3 separate regions of the Homo sapiens genome follow, and all the other regions are linked to region 3. The links are contacts of gene promoters, found by promoter capture Hi-C in human tissues and cell types (Jung and others, 2019). All regions are on one chromosome and are shown on one strand. Each heading gives the region's core, a stretch centred on a gene start or on the middle of the fragment in contact. The rest is flanking DNA. Distances are from core to core; before and after follow the strand shown.

What was found. Contacts are between HindIII fragments. The study calls those that stand out against the background at their distance.
Region 1: a fragment that was not itself captured here is called in contact with the fragment with the promoter of NPFFR2 in region 3 in 2 of the 25 tissues and cell types used here (mesendoderm cells and thymus).
Region 2: a contact is called between a fragment that was not itself captured here and the fragment with the promoter of NPFFR2 in region 3, in 2 of the 25 tissues and cell types used here (heart right ventricle and small bowel).

Annotation. Positions count from the first base shown.
Region 1 is chr4:71,974,223-71,977,299 of GRCh38, reverse strand. No RefSeq gene overlaps it. Among named protein-coding and RNA genes, the nearest start is that of NPFFR2, 56 kb to the left of the region's middle. The HindIII fragment of the contact is 5,388 bases long and covers 1-3,077 here.
Region 2 is chr4:72,084,752-72,088,132 of GRCh38, reverse strand. The region is part of intron 1 of NPFFR2 (neuropeptide FF receptor 2); the gene reads right to left. Among named protein-coding and RNA genes, the nearest start is that of NPFFR2, 54 kb to the right of the region's middle. The HindIII fragment of the contact is 5,357 bases long and covers 1-3,381 here.
Region 3 is chr4:72,030,397-72,033,520 of GRCh38, reverse strand. NPFFR2 (neuropeptide FF receptor 2) reads right to left here and starts at 1,521. Exons shown (of 4, transcript NM_004885.3): 1 at 1,321-1,521. RefSeq lists an enhancer at 1,310-1,912. The HindIII fragment of the contact is 5,305 bases long and covers 1-3,124 here.

The DNA of each region.
Region 1 (3,077 bases), core at 210-2,709, 56 kb after region 3:
TCAGGTGATCCACCCCCTCGGCCTCCCAAAATGCTGGGATTACAGGCGTGAGCTACTGCATCCTGCCACAGTCTTCAATTTGTTGCCAGTTAAACCTCATTAAAGTATCTCCTTTACAATGCCATGCATCTGTTGTCACAGTTCAATCCCTGGGCAGGAGTTTTCTTTTTCTCTACAGTTATGTACATTTTACTCAATTCCCAATGAGCAGCCACCACTTCCATGAAATCTTCAGTGATCAATAAAACTAGAAATAATCTTCCTGCTTCTGTATGACTATGAAATTTTTTACATCAGTCACATGTGATTTAAATCACCAGTTTTGATCTTATTTAGACATATCTCATCCCTTATAAATTGTAAGCTCCCAGAAAGCAAGGTCCATGTATTTACTTTCAACACCCAGCAGAGTGTTGCAACTTAAAATATATATATTTCTTGAACAAACAAATAATCACTTTGAATCCCCTTATCCAGTAAATTCTTCCACATTATAAATTATATAAGACCAGCCACTTAAATGCTGTCAGCCCTGAGGAAAAGACAGAGAGAGGTTCATAAACTTCAGAAATAAAATGTCTCCCTAGGGAATTGAACATATTTTATTTGTTTACAGGTTAGAAAGCTAAAGTGTTATAAAATATTCAACATGTTCTGGGCCCAAGGGAATCACTAGATTGTAATAAAACATATTAACATTGTCATCTTAGAATAAAGTAGAATTTTTAAAGCTTAGAATGATGATTATTGCAAGTATGCTTCTGAGACCAGAGAATTATTTTTACATTAATTAAATTTAATAATACTCTGCTGAAATTGTTATTCTGAAAGGACATTACCACACATTACCAATTCATATGGCTTTATAAAAGGAAAATAATTATTTTCATCTTCTACAGTGATAAATGGGCTTATATTACAGCAACAGAAGTAGCATCTTTAATTTCTAAGATATTCAGGTAAAAAAATTATTCCAGAAAAGAGAAACATACAGAAAATGAGTGTTTGTTTTGTGATGAGTGTTTATTGAGCATTTACTCTCCCGGGCACTTTTCCAGACTCAGGAAGTATATATAATGAGAAGAAATCATAATTCCTGCTTTCGAAGAGCTTACAGCTTGGGATGGACAAAGCCTTCTAAATTATGTAAAAAATAAATTTCAAGATAACACACAGTTAAATGGTAAAATGCTCTAAGAATACAAATAGAAGTGAAACTCATTGGGTTTTTTAGTGGACAGAGCTTCATGGCAGGGGTTATATTAACGAAGAGTATCCTCAATCTTTAATGAATATAACTAGAAAAGAGAGAATTCTAGGAAAGTAAACCAAAGCATGAAAGTACACTTGAGCCGAGTAACATTGTGATGGAAAACAAATGAATTTGGGAAATTTATGTGTATCTTGTAAATTCAGGTAAAAGTCTAGATGAAAGAAATAAAGCTAATGAATACTTAAATTTTCCAAATTGTGTATTTTCCCATCATTTAGTAAGTATTATTATGGAAAAGTATAATAATAGTATCCAGGAAATATTAAATCTGTATCTTCTAAAAGCTCATTTTACTCCTGAAATCTGGCTATATTTGTTAAGAGTTAATTCAAAATTAGTTGAAATTTTCTTATTCTTATGGGCCCAATCATTCATGTATTCATTATTTCATTCAATAATTTTTTTTAATGTTTGCTACATTCTAAAGTGAGGCCTGCGTGAATTCATTTAATAGCTGTCAAGGACATTTTGTCATATGATGAGGATCTGTTAGGGGTGCACCTGGTACCCACTTTGTGTGGAAAGAAAAGTATCCAGAGGTGAAAATGTAAATGGATTCCTGGACAGTGACAAGAGTCCTGGCCAGCTGGTCAGAAACCTGGAAGGAAAAGCCGGAAAGATTGGAGACAAAGAGTTGTGGGGGAGAGCCTAGTGGTGGAAACATGGTAATGTGCACAAGTATCAAAAGTTTGGTACCACATGTTAATGCATTCTAGAAATCTTCTACCCTGGAAGGACCACTAAGCAACCAATCTGCCAGTTGATTTTACCTTTTTTCATTGGTCATTCCAGAACAAGTAATATCATAAATATTAACTTTTTGCTTCCCCTTCCTTTCTTTTAGATTCTTGAAACTAATACAATACTTCCCCCTTATCCATGGTTTTTCTCTCCAAGGTTTCAGTTAGCCATGGTCAACCCTAGTCTAAAAATATTAAATGAAAAATTCCAGAAATAAACAATTCATAGGCTTTTTTTTCCTTTTTTTGTTATTTAGTTTATTATTTGTGGCTTATTTCTATCCAAGAAAGAAGATAAATTTTAAATTACATGCTATTCTGAGTAGTGTGATGAAATCTCACACCATTCTGTTCCATTCCAGGGACGTGAATCATCCCTTTGACCAGCATCTCCACTCTGTCAATGCTCTCTGCCTCTTAGCCACTTACTCGCTGGCTCTATTATCAGATCAGCTTTCAAGGTACCGCAGTGCTTGTGCTCAAGTAACCTTTATTTGACTTAATAATGGCCACAAAGCAGAAAAAATAGTGATGCTGGCAATTCAGATACGCCAAAGAGAACCCTTAAAGTCCTTCCTTAAAGTGTTAAGGTGAAAGTTCTCAATTTAATAAGTAATATGCTGGGGTTGCTAAGATCTGTCAGAACAAATCTTCTATCCACAAAATTGTGAAAAAGGAAAAAAAATTGTATGCAAGTTTTGCTGTCACACTTCAAACTGCAGAAGTTATGGCCAGAGTGCATGATGAGTGCTTAAGGAAAAGGCATTATATTTGTGGGTGGAAGACATGAACAGAAACATGTATCGATTAACAGCAATTGGGTTCAGTACTGTCTGTGGTTTCAGGCTCCCACTGGGGTTATATCTTAGGATATGTTTCTCATGCCTGTTTCAAAGCAAATACTATTTGAGCAGAAGTGATAAAACATTGAACTCACTCTTTTCTCTTATACCCAAGTATTATCTCCAAAGAATGAGATTTACTAAGTGACAGGTTTATAAGATGGCAAAAGTAATGTACTTGAATTCTGGGGAAAGAACGTGAAAGATGAGAATAAAGATACA
Region 2 (3,381 bases), core at 647-3,146, 54 kb before region 3:
GCTATTATCCTACCCAGTGGACTGTGATAAATCCAGTTCTCTCTCTCTCGGAATTTGAGGAAATTAAGTAGTGAAAAGAGGTATTTGGTCTCTCTTCTGGTCCCAGGTTCTGGCTCTCACTAAATTCTCCCCTCTTTGGCTTTCTTGACCTCCCATTTAATTTTCAAGGTACACTTTTGCATGGCTATTTTTGGGGGGATGATGCCAGAAAAATGCAGCAGAACCAGAAATGAAACAGCCTTAAATTGGACTTTAGATAACATTTTTCACAAAGTTCTTCTGTCATTGCTACCATGAAAAAAATGTTTTCTTCAAGGGAAAAGTTAATTTCCTTAATCTCAGCCTGTGGGAACCGTTCTCACACTCTCCAGTCCCTTCCATTTTCTCCCTTCTTCCATCAGTCCTGACCACTCCTTTCTAAAAAGCAGCAAAGTTCTCCTTTATCTTCAGCCTTATCTAGGGACATTCTCAAATTTCTGTTAAATTTATTACTCAGATATTAGCTTATTTCTCTGAATTCTTTCCTTCCCCATCCTATACAGGGGCTCTCATCCATCACAACTGAAGAAGATTACCTACACAAGACCATCATGTATTAATGCTTAGATTCTTAGCAACCCAGATCACTAGCAAAATTTCTAATTTTGGTTAAAATTTTCCTAGATGACATTTTTAGTCAAATCTATCTTTCCTGTAACAATATCTGTAAATAAAAGGCAATAAGAATTGTATTATCTGCCTTTCCAAAGGAAACAGTAGGAGCCATGGAAATTTATTTTTATATGTTGTGTTTGGATTTTCTTCCCAGAACTTTAGCAACAATGTTAAACAACCAGGCTTTTAGTAAAGCAATTCATAGAATCTCAGGTGAGTCTTAATTTTATTTGTAGCAAGCTGCTGCGTTGACCATAACCCAGATTTTTCAGTGCTTAGAGGTGAATGTTAAATCGAACTCCTACGAGCTGGCATGTACCTTCAAGGCAAAATCCTCACACCAAAATACGTACATCATCAATATAAGCTTAGCGCAAAATGGTCTCTTTCAACCCAAGTTGGTATTTCTGGTGGAGTCTACCACTCTTCTAATGCTAAATGTGAAAATAAAGGCTTTATTTTCTTTTTCTCTCCCAATTTCTCTGTCAGAATGTTTATGCAGATATTACAGACTTGACAAAATACTTACTAACTTTATTATTATTAAATGTGCATATCATAGTTTATCAACAGTTCAGTAATCTAGGAAATATATTTTTGTGTTCCCATGGGATGCATAACTCTTTATTAAACATGGTGTCATCTTACATTTATATGGAGCTCAATCTCTACCAACAATTGTTTTACTATTTATTCTGCATTAGCAATCAACTGTTCCAAAATATTTTTTATTTAAGGGGATCCATTATTGAAGGATAGCATACAATATGGTTAATGAGATTTTAAAGTATTCTGGATACTAAACAGAACTAACTAATGTAAATCATTAATTTCAACTTTTTTCTCTGTTAACTAGTTAAAAATACTGAAGTGAATAGACATATAGTTATTTCCTTATAATCATCAAGAAAATCAGAATAAACATATAAATTACATATTTAATAACTAAATTTTCACAAGACCCTTACTTAATTAAGACCTAATTTTTAATTGTCAGTTTGCTAGCTTACATTCTAAGAGGTTCTAAATAGAGCACTATAGGTGGCAAAAATAGCTGAAAATAACGTAGCCTGCTTACAGTGAGACAGAAATACAGAGTTATTAGTGATATCCATGTTCTGGTCCATCAGACTGCTATCTACGTAAGATGACTGCTACCTACTTAGGAGAGCTTAAGAAAGCTGAAACCATTACCACACTGCAAAACAACAAGGATCTAAACCTTTTTTTATGGACTTCGCTAGTTCACAGACTATTTATTTAAATTTATTTTCAACCTTCAATATAAAGCAATGATTGCTGCATTAATCAACAAATGAGAATAGGGCATACCAAGGAAAACACATTTATTTTACACTTACAATGTGCTTGGTATTTAGTAATCTTCTATCCATTATTTAATATAAAGAATGCTCATAATAACCTTGTGATGTGATAACCAATGGCACATTGATAACGAGTGATCATTATTGAGCATCTTCTTGGTATGTATCAAGCAAATCAGACAAAGCACCTGCTCTCTTCCAGTTTATAAGACAAAGAAATCCATGTTTTCCCTCCATTGTTTCTTCTTAGATTTTGGCTTGCTGTGACAATATGTATATACACTAAACTTGTACTTTTAGGACTTACCAAAAAGATAATTTAATTTTTAACCATTAGTTTCATTTAAAAACTTTAGTTTGCTGTAAAAAAATCATGTGCTGAAGAGTGGGATGGAAATGTAGTCAGTGTAGGAGGGTTCAGAGGCTTTTTTAAAAATTACATAACTAGCATTTCTTTACATCTGGATTGTCCCATCAGCCTACTTAATTGAACCTAACATAATTTAGTTGTCCTCCTTAATCAGTAATGATGTCAATAAAAAGTGAAACAATTTAATGGTAGAATACCATTTGCCTAGGCAATTATGCAGAAACAACTCTGAAATGAAAGGTTTTATGCTATGAGGATCTCAACATGGCATACATTTAGTTGAACAAAAGAAGAAGTAGATTAAGGCATGTAAGAGAAAGAGAAAAAACATAAAATATATGCTGGGGAAAAAAAAGCTTGTGGCTGAAGCTTGAAATGCAAAATATACATATAAAAAACAAGAATCCAAGTTACGAGCCCTTTGTCTCAAAAGACTTTCTTCCCTTGTCCTTCACAGCTGAAGATTGCTCAGATTTCACAGGATTTTGACACTGCTATTATATAAGATACGAAACTGAGAGCAAACAATAACTCCATGTTCAGCTGAGAGCCACCTCATGTCAGTTGAAATAGCTACCAAAAAAACTAATATGGGCTGAAGAATGTGGAAAATAGTACTAACTAGTATTAACATTTGTTGGTATCTGTCTTTTCATCCCATACATTTCTAGTTTTACTCTTAGAAGATTTACCATTATTTTATGAAATGTCTTAATGACTTTTTTTTTAAGCACATTATTCTCAACTAATAGTTCTCGAATAAAGAACAGCATGATTGTCTGTAATTTTTGGATTCCACCTAATGCAGAGTCTAAAACAAGGACTTGGATGCCATATTTGGGAGGCAATTACAGGAAGCAAGAGTGAGTGAACAGGGTAAATGAGAAAGTGAAAGAAGAAAACTCAATAAAGTCCAGTTTTCCAGCTGCCTAGTGCTGTGGGCGAAAAGAGCTCTCTGAGTAAATATGTGGAAATCATGACCTGTGGCCAGGGCATTTATCTACTGACTCCAGACACCCTTAAGGCATTCAG
Region 3 (3,124 bases), core at 272-2,771:
TTGAGAAAAAGAATAGGATAATGATATATGAGTAACATGTTATTTTCAAGCAATAAAGAAAGCACATTTTTTTATTATTACAATAGCCAGTCTGTAATGTTAATATGTGCCTTTAAATATAGTGCAGTAGGTACTGTTACTGCACTATATTGCATCACTGTTTTATTAAATGATCGATCTATAGAAGTTTTTAACAGATGAAAGACTCTAATTGAACTCTGCATACAATTGCCATTCTGTTGATGATAATGGCACTATTTTTGAGCACATTATAGCCATTTTGCAAATTCATCCATAACTTAGATTCATCATTATTATGATAATTTTACTCAATTTATTATGGTTTAATTAGAAATCCAGATGGAAACAAAAATATGTCCTTCACAGTTTACAAACCATTGATTTTTCCATCCTTCCTCTCATTAGTAGTTCCCACTTGAAAGTTATTTGGATGTGAATGGAATTAGAAATTTAGACATATGTTTAAAACAACTTTGAATATTTGGATTAAAAAAAGGAAACCAGCATCTTTGTATAATTCATGTTATCATTAAGATTTTTTAAAAAGAAATAAATATTTCAAATATCTACACTATAGCTGAGGGGAAATGGGAGATGAACAAATGTATTTTTGGTTTTTAGTTAGTAGTTCTGTCTTTAACTAGAACGACAGCTTGAAGAAGATCATTTTCCTCTCCTCCAGACCCTAAATTTGACCTAGGGCGGCACTGTTGGAAAATGCCTGATGGTTTGACAGAAGAACTAAAATGGTATTGTCTGGAAACCCTATCTCACTCCCAGAAGGGGATAAAACCTCTCCAAACGCCTTCAATAAGGACTCTGGTGTCCTGTACGCAGCTCAGAAACCTGATTTCAGCTTTTCTAGCAAGTGGAAATGCACAAGATGAAGCCTCAGATACACAAAGATCATTGCTTAGAAGCATCACGGATAAAAACAGTTTAGAAACTCGCTAGCTTCAGACCCGCTAAGGAAATTCAACAAAGTTACAACACAATACAGCCCCGGAGAGGGCTTGGGGGGAACTTTAAGGTGAAGAAAGCGCCCCACATCCCTTGACCAGGTCCCTGCTCTGCAAGCCTGGGGCCACAGCCATCTGTGGTGCAGACATCCAGGGCAGAGAAGCCCCCCAGTGTTGGGCCAGTGACCAAGCGGGTGCCTGTGTAATTAGGAAGGGATTTGAAAAATCCAAGGTGTCGGTCCACAATCGCTAATATGTGTCATCAAGGCAAGCGTTGGGCATTAGAGAGGGGTCGCGCCCCCAAGCGGGGGCCCCCAGACAAACTGGCCCATGCTGTTACCTCTCCCGGCGAGCCCTGTCGGCGGCAGGAACCAGAATCCACCAAGCCCGTCTGCAGCAACAGGTTCTGTCCCTGCTCCGGCTCCAGCTACTTTTCGCAGTCTGCCGGCTCAATCCCAGCCGACGTCTGTCCCCCGCGGACTGCCTGCTCCACTCCAGGCTTCCGCTCCAGGCTGGCCCGCCGCGCTGCTGGACGCTGAGTGCTCTGCGCTCCCTCCCCGCCTCCTTGTCCGGTGCAGATGAGACGTCACTTTCCAGGAGGCACCAGCTGGCCGCTGGGGTTCCGAAGAAGCTATTCATATCCCGCTAAGGGGCACCCAGGTACATTCTTGTGAAACTCAGAATCCGAGCGCGGCAAAGAAAAGGAAGCATCAGTATCACCATTACTTGGCTCCAGATCCTGGGCAAGTGATTTAGCCTCTCTGTGCCTCAGTTTCCTCGTTTGTAAAATAGAGATGATGATGATATTAATCAGTAAGTAATCTGAGAATTATTTGTCTACATGCAAAAGTGCCTGGAATGGTCCTGGTACACATTAATCATTACATTAAATGTGAGCTATCATCATCTTTAAGGTTCTAATGGGACTGAGAGATTCATCGCATATTGCAAACCCTCTCTCTGTCTGAAGCAGACCGTATTTTTTGAGCCTTTGCAAAGATCTTTTAGCTTGCAAGCAAACCCCTCTGAAATTCTGGAAATATATTCACAGCATAATCAGAAATGGAAGGGGAAGAACCCTGGGGAGACTCACAATGATCCTAACAACACTATCTGCCCAGTTGGGTCTTGCTAATAGAGAGATGATGACTAGACTTTAATGGATTAACTTAGAGATTTATACAATTACTAAGAAAGGGATAATTAAAGGTGCTTTAAGCATGAGAAACCTGTGAGGAGCCTTTTAGACCTAATCCTCACGATAGCACTCTAGGTTTGTGAAGAGTTGATATATAATTATTTCCAATTCACACAGAGGCACCAAGGTTTAGTGACTTGTCTAAGATTACAGAGGTGGTATTTAAATGAAAGAAAAGCTCCAGAAGCCAAATTCATTTCTTTATCTGCTACATTTCTCTGCCTATATCACTGGTACACGTGGAATACAGAAAAAAAGCCTATGGTGAGACAGACCTTTTAAAGTAGGATTCCTTGGTCTTGGATTAAAGTTGCAGATTTTGACAAGTGTGTGTGTGTGGTGTGTGTGTTTAATGACTAAATTGAGGCGTATTTCTCCCAAGACTTTACCAAGTTCAAGGTAAGGATACTGGTCCCACTTCTCTAAAGTTTATCAGGATACTCAAGGCACAGAAAGTCATAGAAAAGAAAAAGACGTTAAAGAGATAACACAGGAGTCATAGGATAGAATAATAAGTTAGTTGGGTAAAATAAAACTAAGAAGAGAAAAGCATTTTGTATTCAACCTGAAATTCTCAAATCAAAGTGCAAAAATAATTGTGATTCATTGCTCTACACAGTACCTCATACCACTGGAAAAATAAGTCATTAAAAAGAATGAAAGCAATAGCAACGCTTTTGATGAGACAGTGAGGTAATGTCCAGCTTGCTAGGATTCTATTACAAATTAAAAGAAATATGAAACTTATGTAACAATCATTTAAACTATGATTCCATTTCTGTATCATGAAACAACACACTGCAAGAACTATTCTCCTGCTCCCCACCCCTACCATTCCACCACCACTAAAAACAGTAGACTATATCCATAAGCAGGAGAAAATTATATAAAACTAGGGAAGGACCTGATATGCACCTTTCCCTGAGTACTTCTCCTGTAAACACCT